Linked DNA regions of Homo sapiens: all the other regions are linked to region 1. The links are contacts of gene promoters, found by promoter capture Hi-C in blood cells and fetal thymus (Javierre and others, 2016). All regions are on one chromosome and are shown on one strand. The core of a region is centred on a gene start or on the middle of the fragment in contact, and the rest is flanking DNA. Distances in the headings are between cores, read along the strand shown. Region 1 holds the start of CRB2 (crumbs cell polarity complex component 2). Region 2 overlaps RABGAP1 (RAB GTPase activating protein 1). Region 3 overlaps RABGAP1 (RAB GTPase activating protein 1).

Region 1 (3,671 bases), core at 556-3,055:
CCAGCAGGCCTGATGGGTTGAGTGTACACACCAGTGTCCAGACCCCCCACAGCCTCCATCCACTCTGTGCCTCCAGGTCCCCTGTGAGTGCACACTGAGTGTGAATGCACACATGTCCACATGTGCGTGTTGGGGTGTGCACATTGGTGTGCAGGCACATGCCATGTGTGTAGGTAGGTGCATGTGCTGGTAGATCCACATGTGTCTGTAGCACCTGTCCCTGTGGTGCTGTGTGCCCTTGGGCATGCCACACAGGTGTGCGGAGTGTGGGTGTGTGAGCATCACAGGGCAGGGGACAGAGCACCGATCCACAGACCGGGATCTCACGTGCTTTGTATGCAGAGAACAGAGAGGAGCAGCCACCCCGCCCCCCGCCACCATGCCCCACCCCTCTATGGAGCCCAAGTCGCCTGCCAGCAGAGCCCAGCTCATAAGTCCCCGTCCCTCTCTGAGCCTTGGTTTCCTTCACTGCAAAATGGGGTCCTCATCCTCCCTAGGGCCCCATAGAGAGGATAGGAAATGAAAGCTTTGTGAGTGCGGGAAACATGAGGGTCCCCAGGTGGGACTGGGAGACACTTGGCCCCCACACCCTACAGCCTGTGGAGCTCTGGGGCAGGGAGGGCTCCCCCAGCCTCAGGAGAGCCCAGGCCCTCCTTGGCTCCCTCCCCAGCCTGTGGTGGTGGGGGCAGGGGACTTCCCAGGCCCGGCCCCTGTAACTATAGTAACTAACACCAAGCGTTCCCTTGGACCCCCCAGGAGGAATTCCAGGCTCCGAGAGCTTGGACAAAAGCAAAAAGGGCTTGGCAAATGTGGTCTGGCTTCAGGGAGCCCTTTCAGATTGGCCTTGGAATGCTGGGGAGGGGGCAGCAGGGGACACACACATGTTCCCAAATCCCCAGCCACCCCACAGGGACCCAGAGCATCCCCAGCAGCCCTCAGCACAGGCAGGGCTACCGCACAAATGGAGGGGTGCGGGCAGGCACCCAGCTCCCTGAGTCTCCCTCACGCTTCTCCACTCAGTCCCGAGTTGGGGTCGGCTGTGCACATCCCACACCCCTCATGTTGAGAGCAAAGACCTAGTTCAACCCTGGACAACCTACACCCCACAGCGTGTGCTAGGACACAGCTCACCACACCCAACTCCTCGGACACAACTCACGGCTCACCCCAGACAGCTCATCCACCTCCCAACTCTAACACACCCACAACCTGTGCCCCACAACCCAGCATGCGACACAGAACAAGCTCTGGGGTGAGGCTTATGCCACCTGCAACTCCCCAAACTCAGCCCCTAGAAACCCAGAAGTCCCCCAGCCCTTTACAGGATGCAACACAGCACCTCCCAAAACACGCACCCCATCCCTCACCCGCATCAGCTCCCCCAAATCATGCCCAGCCCCCGATCCCCCAACCCCGAAACTTACAACCCCCCTCAACATGAAACAGCCCCGAGCCTCAGAACACACTCACCTCCGTGGAGCCCCACAGAGTCTGGGGGCCACAGCCGCGCACTCCTGTGCACCCCACAGCTCAGGCCTGCACCCACGCGGACCAGCCCACCCACCACCCCAGCAGCCAAGGCTTGGGGTATCTGTCTTGGGGGACAGACCCTCTCCCAGGCCCCTCCAGACATGGGCCCCAACTCACCAGCCAGGAGGGAAAGGGCAGGGGCCCAGAGCAGCAGTAGCAGGACAGAGGCCAGGGCCTGGGGGTCCGGGGTCCCAGGCCTGGCCAGCGCCATGGCAGCCCGCTCTGCGCTCTGCTCGGCTGCTGTGAGAACGGGAGGGCGGCCTGGCTGGCTCCGCACCCCCCTCGTCCCTCCAACCAGCACTAATGCTGTGGACAGAGGCCCAGCCCCTCCCTCCCCTCCCCGCCACCGCCTCCTCCTCCCACCCAGGCCTCCTGGGCTGCTCCACCTCGTGGACGTCCCTAGACATCAGCCCCAAGTCCTCAAGCCCCCTAGCCTGTGGGGCTGACCTGGTCTTGGCACCCACTGGTTTCTCCCTCCTGACCCTCTGCCCCACTCTCCTCCCACCTCTCAGGTCAGCCTCCTTGGAGAAATTTCTGTCCTTGGAGAGGGGGCTGTTCAGGACTCTCGTCTCACCAGGTGATGCCAGCTACTCCCAAGTCCTTAGTTATCCCCTCTCCTGGATCCCCCTCCCCACCTCTCCAGCCCGGGCCTCTCTCCCAAGCCCAGGCCTTCGAGTCCAGTCGCCTCCCAGACCCTGTCTCTGCTGGGAAGCTGCAGCCCCTCCCACCCAGCTCGTCCCCCCACCTGCTGCTCCCCAGTGCTCCCATCGGAGCCAAGGCACCTCCCATCGGGCAGCCCAACGCCCCCTCCCCACTCCCCCCTCCCCACACTCGGTCAGCCCCTAGCTCCTGGCCATGCCACCTTCTCAGTGTCTCCTGCTGTCCCCACCCCGTCCCACCCGACCACACACAGCTCCTCCCACCATCGGCCTCAGGATCAGCTCCCTGCAGGGCACCTCACCCCTGCACCACGGTGGTCCCTGCCTCCCTTTACCCTCTCCACCCTTCACCAGCCAAACTGAACCTTTCCCAGCTTTCTTCCACTTGACCTTGATCTCTGGCTCTGCTGTTTGCAACTCCAGCGACCTCACTGCAATCCAAAGCAGCCCATTCTACTGAAAGGCAGCTCTAACCAAGCAAGCATTGCTCTCCCCTGCCAGGAAGTCCTTCTTGTTGTCTAACCTTATAGTCTCCTGCTGCACTCGATGTTTGCTTGCTCTCCAGCTGGCCTCTTGTTGGGGTGGACAGGAGGAGCTCTTCAGGGGGACCTGGTTCAGGAAGCCAGGTCATCTCAGAGACACTACAACATAGAACAACATTCCTTTCTTCTACCACCCTCAGCCCCAGTGGGGAGAGAATCCTCTTGCTGAAGGGACTTTCCTGAAATGAGCCACCGGCCCCTGCCAATACATGCCTGTTTGTCCCTATTCAGTAACCGTGGATACAGCCCACGCAGGCCCTGGGCTCTGGGATGTGTCCCTGACACGGGAGGACACAGCCTGGAAAGACAGCAGGAGCCATTGAGGGAGGTCCAGATGAGCTAGAGGGATGGGCAAGGGTCCCCTGCAGTGCAGGGGAGGGAGCAGTGGGCACCACACAGGCCCTGGCCGACCCTCTAGCCCGGGGCAAGTGCCACAGCCCTGGGTCCCCAGGGACCAAAGGAGGGAACCCAAAAAGGCCTGGGTAGACTCCTTATCCACTGCCCCTGCCCCATCCCTGCCCTTGAGGCCTGTTCTCTCCAGGGCAGGGATTGCCCCTTGGTTTCTGGGACACTAACCTCTCTCAGTCCATCTTTAATCCCCTGCCTCTCCAATACAACAGGATCCCTCTCCCCAGGTGGGAGAAGCCCCTCTCCATGCCACAGGAAAAGCAGAGGCCTCACAGCGTAAGAGATCTGGGTTCGAGCCCAGCTCAGCCACTGATTAGCCGGTGACCTCAGCACGTGACTTCCTTCTCTGGGCCTCAGTCTCCTCACCTGTAAAATGGTGGCGTTAGTGAGCCAAGGCGACAGTGCCAGCTCTCTTTATCCAGCTTCTCAGTGATCCCCCAGAGACCCAGGCAATCCCAATGGGGGGCTGGGGGGAGCACGGCAAGTCAACCACCACCCTCTGGTTCTCTGGATGCACAGACACAAACTCCCA
Region 2 (3,671 bases), core at 469-2,968, 330 kb after region 1:
TAACTACTTGTAGATGATAAATTATCTCAGTTCTTCAAATTCCTAAGCTTCACCTCTGGGCATTAGTGTCAACTACCACTTATTATTTGGTAAAAATGAGCTTCACTTTTTGTCTGACATCTTAGCAAGGCTGCAGTGTTCGCCACTGCTCTCCGAGCTTCACGATGCCACCCAAGGACTACAAGAAGAAGACAGACACTGGAAAGTCAGCCAAGAAAGACAAAGACCCAGTGAACAAACCCGGGGGCAAGGCCAAAAAGAAGAAATGGTCCAAAGGCAAAGTTAGGGACAAGCTCAATACCTTGTCTTGTTTGACAAAGCTACATATGACAAACTCTGTAAGGAAGTTCCCAACTATAAACTTATAACTCCAGTTGTGGTCTCTAAGAGACTGAAGATTTGAGGTTCCCTGGCCAGGGCAGCCCTTCTGGAGCTCCTTAGTAAAGGACTTATCAAACTGGTTTCAAAGCACAGAGCTCAAGTAATTTACACCAGAAATACCAAGGGCAGAGATGCTCCAGCTGCTGGTGAAGATGCATGAACAGGTCCAAGCAACTCTACATTTGGAAAAATAAAACTTTATTAAGTAAAAAAAAAAAATGAGCTTTAAACATTGATTAATTAACATATTATTTTAGTGCAGCTGATGTGAGTTTATTTATGTAACTGTCATTCCAAAAATGATTTGAGATACTTTGACTCATCTTTTATTCCTCCCTCGCCCTCATCTCCCACATTCATTCAGTCATCAAGTGAGTGCCAAGGACTCTACCTCTGAAATCCTCTTAAATAGCATCTTTTTCCCCATCCCTTTGCCACTACACCCCAATCCAAGTTGAAATTATCTCTTGCCTGAATTATTAACGGGTCTCGCTGCAATTATTCTTACTCCATGCTAGCCCAAGTAACAGAGTGATCTTTCTAAGCCTGATAATACAGATAATAAGCAAAAAATATATATAATATTAAGTTATTTACACTTAGTATGGACTATGGATTATACTAAGAATTTTCACACATTAATTCTAACAACTCTACAACTATTATTATTCCATTTTACAGATAAGGAAACCAAAGCGTATGAATGTTAAATTGCCCAATTTCAATGGCTAGAATACAGCAGAACTAGGATCTGAATTAAGACAATTTGCCTTTAGATGGAAACCACTTTGCATACTGCCTTATAAACCGGAATATATAACCTGCCTGCTTAAAATGCTTCATTCGCTTCTGTTGCCCAAAACCTTAAATATGCCTTCTGAAGCTTTCAAAGATCTGTTCCCTATCTACCACCTCTCTGGTCTTACCTCCATTCACACTCTATGGAACTGCCTTGAGTACACGCTGTTCTCTCTGACTTTTAAGACCACATCTGTTATGCAGCACCCTATCCCACCCCAACTATCCAACCCCTGGCTAATTTCTGAGCAAGAGACCTTTTAGAACACTTAGGTGAGAAATCCTTCATGTCATATGCAGTACAGCAGTATATATTTTTTCTTCTACAACTCCCATGCAACTTTATGATTGTTTATAGTTAACTGTCTATTTCCTTCATTAGACTGCAGACTTCCTGAAACCAGTGAACAAGTTTATTTTATTTATGGGCATATCCATGAGGCCTACCACAGGGTTGGCACAGGGTAGGCATTCAAAAGGTATTTTTTATTGAATAAACAATGAATGTCCAATGAAACAAAAGGCAATTCTGCTTCTAAGTTGAAAGATCTTTCAAGTAAAACCCCAGCATGGTAACTGTTTAACTCACCTATAATTATTAGGTCGAGGCATATGAAATTGCCTATTTGTGGGTCAAAAACTGTCAAATAGCAATTTTAACATGGACAAACCAAATATGTTTCCAGTCTTATAATTCAGGAAACCTTTAGAACTCCCAGCAAGTATGACTTACATAAACTCACACAAAGGAAAATAACTTCACAGGGATAAGATATAGGGCTTAAAATTATGTTCACAAGTAATAATTTAGAGGGACCTACTGTAGCAATTGCTGTATGACAGCAGACAATACAGTTCTAACATCCACCAGCCACTATTTTCATGTAGGACAAGGCAGCAAGAGTGCTCAGTTGTGAAAAAATGGAATTATGGCCTATTTTGGAGGGCAGGACTCAAACACACTGTCTGATTTTCCAGAATGTCAAAGCTTAAGGAAAAATCAACAGACTACCTCAGCTACCTCAGTTCAGAGAAGAGGAAATGAAGCGGCAGAACTGAAACTAGTACCCAGGCTTCCTCCTCCATGGCCAACATTCTTTTTTGCTAAATCGATCTCCTTTTATTGTTGGGTATCCACAGGCATATGCTTATGATTAAATATTATTCAATAATACAAACCTACCAGACAGAAGTTGTTAATTAAAAAGCAAAACAATCTGCGTAGTAATAACATAATAATTGAATACATTATTTTTTCCAGACTAGCAAAATGTGGCTGGGCCTCCAGGGATTCCTTTCAACAATTAGAAATGTAAATATTGGTTGGCAGGGCACGGTGGCTCACGCCTGTAATCCCAGCACTTTGGAAGGCCAAGCTGGGGGGATCACAAGGTCAAGAGATCGAGGCCATCCTGGCCAACATGGTGAAACCCCATCTCTACTAAAAATACAAAAATTAGCTGGGCATGGTGGCACATGCCTGTAGTCCCAGCTACTCGGGAGGCTGTGACAGGAGAATCACTGAACCTGGGAGGCGGAAGTTCCAGTGAGCCAAGATCGTGCCACTGCACTCCAGCCTGGCAACAGAGCGAGAGAGCGAGAGTCCGTCTCAAAAAAAAAAAAAAAAAAAGAAAAGAAAGAAAGAAATGTAAATATTGGTTATTTGAGCTTGCTACTAGTTTGCTTCTGGATAAAAGCTTGCTAAAGATTCTTATCACTGAAGTTGAAACTAGAGAAAATGATGCAGATAAGTTTAAGAAAAGATAAGCAAGGCCAAGTGGATGGAAGGAAAGAAAAACATCAGAATAGGTTGCTATTTCATTATTCTCTCGTTATTAAAATGATCTACTGAAGAAGTAGTTTGCTGTAAATTTTTGCTACTAAGCACTGAATTATAAGAAGCTAAGCCACCAACACAAAAGGTAAAAAATAACCATCAGAAAGAAGGGACAGAAGAGGATTCTGGAAGCCGGGAACAAGAAAGTGCCTTTGTTTCCCCTTCATTTTCAACTCCAACTTATTTGATTCACAAGATCCAAACAGCTGTAAGAATTACAGGCAACTGGAGGTAAGAGAAGCCATGAGAGTCTCTGTGGATTACTTATTAAGCTTTCTTCCCTCTGAGTCTGACAAGTTCTACCTAGAGGCCAGGGTTGAGGAGCTCTTAATCAAACACCAGAAGACAAAGACTACCAGGGGTGCTTGGTCTATAAAAATTTATTCCATGAAGCCAAGGGTAGTAGTTCAATATAAGAAGTCTATCACATGTTGATAGATTATGTAACTTATTCCATTAACAAATTAAAGAAAATCAGTAATAGTCCTGAAAAAGCTGATAAAATTCAGTAACATTCCTAATAAAAAATCCAAAGCAGGGATAGAAGGAAACCACTTAAATTAAACACAATTTATTATTATTTTAAGTCTCACTCTGTCACCTGGGCTGAAGTGCAGTGGCACTATTTTGGCTCACTGCAACCTCTGCCTCCGGG
Region 3 (3,671 bases), core at 567-3,066, 310 kb after region 1:
GGTCGAGGCGGGCAGATCACCTAAGGTCGGGAGTTCGAGACCAGTCTGATCAACGTGGAGAAACCCCATCTCTACTAAAAATACAAAATTAGCCAGCCGTGGTGGCACATGCCTGTAATCCCAGCAACTCAGAAGGCTGAGGCAGGAGAAGCCCTTAAACCTGGGAGGCGGAGGTTGCAGTGGGCCAAGATCGCGCCATTGCACTCCAGCCTGGGCAGTAAGAGTGAAACTCCGTCTCAAAAAAAAAAAAAAAAAAAAAAAAAAAAAAAAAAAAAAAAAAAAAAAACCAAGGTGAATAAAATCACAACATGTGGCTCCTCAAAGAAAAGGCACAGTCGCTGAATGCTGGGGGCATGTATCTTAACCATTTCAGATCCTAAAAAAAAAAAAAAAATTGAGTATTCTTTTCAATGTTCTGAGTTTTTTTCTTCAAGGCTGACCACCAGATAGATATATTTTTAGATCACAATATCCTGGCCTTTCACATAACTACCTTCACTAAGTTGTGGTATTAGCATGTTCTAAGACCCTGTCAAAAAAAAGAAAACAAACAAACAAAAAAAACCCTGCTATTGAAACTTTGTATTTCATGGTGGTGAGGACATCTACCACTTTACTCAGTGTCCCCATCAAAAAACAGTTTCTCCTAAAAAATTATACATATTTTTCCCCATGGAAATGATCCAATGTTCATTTTTGCTTCGGCCTTCAGGAGGCTCGGAATCAAATCTGCAGCTCAATCTTACATAATACAGGACCTCATAGCCTGTATATCAGTAATAGGAATTATAGTATATTTGTATCAAACAAATTAAAGCCTCTCAAAGTCAATTACATAGTCAAATCAGTAAGAATTATAGAAATAGGTATCGATTGGTGGGCTCACTTAACACTGACAATACAAAAACATCTTCATCTTAATTTAGCTCTGAAGAATGTAATTATATAAAACAAACACATTTTTACTTGTCCCTACATGACTAGCAACACTGCCCTTTAAGTCAGTATTTTCAACTAGGAACCATGGGACCTCTCTGTGCTGTGATGCTGTTCTTCCACACCAGTGCAACAGCAGGGATTTTAGTGGAAGTTGGATTTGTGTGTAGATATTGCTTTGTGTATTTACCCTGGTGATTTGCTCTTGAAGGCAAAAACCATACTTGCAGTAAAACTGCCACTGATTAACAATAACAATTCAAAACCTGGACCAAAAAGAAATAGTAAACTGATCTCTATACATTTAAATACATGACATATTGTTTAGGTATTCAGTAATTAATGCTTTAAAATTTCTACTCCAAAGCTCCAACACATCACACAGAGCAGACTGGAATTAGATACCCATGAACATGGAGGTAACTAAAGGCATTTCAGAATCTGGTCATAATTGTGTGGAGACTGGAGTTGGACTTTTGACAAAGAATGCAGACGATGGACTTTAGGTGCTCTACTTAGATCACAATGCAACCAACAGAACACAAAGTCTAGGGCCAGGCTGTTCTGTCTCTGGGTACTGCCTCTCCCACTTACTAATTTGTGTGACCTTGGGCAAGTCATTTAACTAATCTGAACCTTAACAAACCTATCTATAAAATCTATGCAATGGTCCCTGCCTCACAGTTTATGAGAAGCAAATGAAATACTGCATGGAAAGCTGGTGGCTTAAGGCCTGGTATATCAGCGGTAGCTCTTTCTCAACAGACTTGAGATTTATGATGCTGGCATATTTCCCACCTTGGGAGAGAAGCCAAGGGACAAAATCTGTATTTGGCAAGTTTTCCTGTTTGGGACTTAGTGCCCTGTCGGGGATCTGCAATTAGACAGTATACAGTTCAGAAATCTCCTGAATGTTATGAACATCACATTTAAACCAAATGAAATTATAAAGAAATCAGGTGGCAGAAAAACTGATACTTGAAACATAAGTGATACAATAAGAGTATTTTGTTTTTTAGCCTATGAACCATACTAATGAAAACACTGTAGAGCTCAATATTAAATACCTTTGCTGATTATCTTTTTTCTTCCAAAATCATTTCTCAGAAGCAAAAATCCATCTAGGTTTCTCTATTATCGTTGTCTAATTTAGTAAGGAGTTCATCCATTTCAAGAAAAATAATATAAACATTCCAAATGACTCTACTCCCTTTACTCTTTTCCCCTCCAAACAACTTACTCCAAACACACAAAACAACAACAACAACAACAACAAAAAACACCATATGCTGTAATCATTGAACTGTCACAGAACCTTTACTACACCAGACTCAATAAGCTGGCTCTAGAAATGTTTGCCAAATAAGCTCCTTTAACATATACTTTAGAATTATATTAGCTGAATGATTATATAAGTATTATGTTCAATCTATACCACACGTTGAAATAGAAAAGCAGATGACTTCCTCAGAAAAGATGGCTCTTTATTTAATGAAATATTTTACTGCTATCACATTGTTTCAATCCAAATATGGCATTATAGTGCCATTCTAAAAATAAATCTAAGTCCCATGTGATATGCAGCCTTTTAGCTATGTTCATTTCCTTTTAGGGCTCAAGTTTCCCACAGGAAAATTATTCAATGTTTGGCAAAACGGTCCCAAATCATGTATAAATAAGACATAAATGCTAACTGCACTGTCAACCTTTTCCTGGTTTGCTATTGTTGATTCTCCTTCACAGCAATCCATCATGGAGAGGCCCAAGAAGCAGGAAATACTCAAGTACTGTTACCTGACAAAAGTGAACACACAAAATATCATTTTGATTTAAGAGGTGGTGATAGTCAAAGGGGGAAGGTAATTTATGGGTGAACTAAGACATAAAATTATTATATGCAAAGTCATATTCCAAACAAATGTTTCTGATAACTGTGATGAACTTCCAAATACTTATTTCATTGTATTATTACCAAGTAAACTGCATATCAAATGCTCTCTTAGTACAGCTTAATACGTACTGTATTGTTTGACTTGTACTATTTGTTTAAAGATTTTGTAAAGCGTTGTATGCTATGGATAAAATCTTCTCAAAATCACCTACTAATAACATGCAACACACAGACACACAGAGGACCAAGTCTCATATTGCTCAAGTTATATTTTTAAATAATCGAATCAATGGATTATTTCCAAGAAAATGCTTATAAATGCTTCAAAATGCTAACAAATACTCAGTTTTACTTTACAAAGTTAGCTTCTCTTCTGAAATAAGTCACAAATCAGAGATTTAAATGTGTCTATTGAGTAGCAAAAATATACAGCAGTTGATTGGGCATGATGGCTCACGCCTGTAATCCTAACACTTTGGGAGGCCAAGATGGACGGATCACCTGAGGTCAGGAGTTCGAGACCAGCCTGGCCAACATGGTGAAACCCCATCTCTACTAAAAATACAAAATTAGCTGGGCGTGGTGATGCACACCTGTAATCCCGGCTTCTCAGGAGGCTAAGGCAGGAGAATCGCTTGAACCTGGGAGGCGGAGGTTCGCAGTGGGCCGAGATCGCGCCATTGCACTCCAGCCTGGGCAGCAAGAGCAAGACTCCGTCTCAAAAAAAAAAAAAAAAAAAAAAAAAAAAAAAAAAAACCCAGCAGCTGTAAAATGGCTAGATATTTTTGCTCTTATAACAATTAACAAATATTAAATGAAAATCTGTGTTTGAATGATACCAGTC

Evidence for each region. Contacts are between HindIII fragments. The CHiCAGO score rates a contact against its expected background, and 5 or more counts as called.
Region 2: a contact is called between a fragment that was not itself captured here and the fragment with the promoter of CRB2 in region 1, in 1 of 17 cell types (naive B cells). The highest score is 5.7, in naive B cells.
Region 3: a contact is called between a fragment that was not itself captured here and the fragment with the promoter of CRB2 in region 1, in 2 of 17 cell types (activated CD4 T cells and naive CD4 T cells). The highest score is 5.5, in activated CD4 T cells.

The regions. Positions count from the first base shown.
Region 1 is chr9:123,354,331-123,358,001 of GRCh38, reverse strand. CRB2 (crumbs cell polarity complex component 2) reads right to left here and starts at 1,805. Exons shown (of 13, transcript NM_173689.7): 1 at 1,648-1,805. The coding sequence starts at 1,741. RefSeq lists enhancers at 1-124, 3,505-3,671, 3,343-3,671. The HindIII fragment of the contact is 7,167 bases long and covers 529-3,671 here.
Region 2 is chr9:123,026,247-123,029,917 of GRCh38, reverse strand. The region is part of intron 13 of RABGAP1 (RAB GTPase activating protein 1); the gene reads right to left. It also overlaps the pseudogene RPS25P8. Among named protein-coding and RNA genes, the nearest start is that of GPR21, 5.6 kb to the left of the region's middle. The HindIII fragment of the contact is 903 bases long and covers 1,267-2,169 here.
Region 3 is chr9:123,047,832-123,051,502 of GRCh38, reverse strand. The region is part of intron 13 of RABGAP1 (RAB GTPase activating protein 1); the gene reads right to left. It also overlaps a transcript of GPR21 not described here. Among named protein-coding and RNA genes, the nearest start is that of GPR21, 16 kb to the right of the region's middle. The HindIII fragment of the contact is 3,989 bases long and covers 1-3,671 here.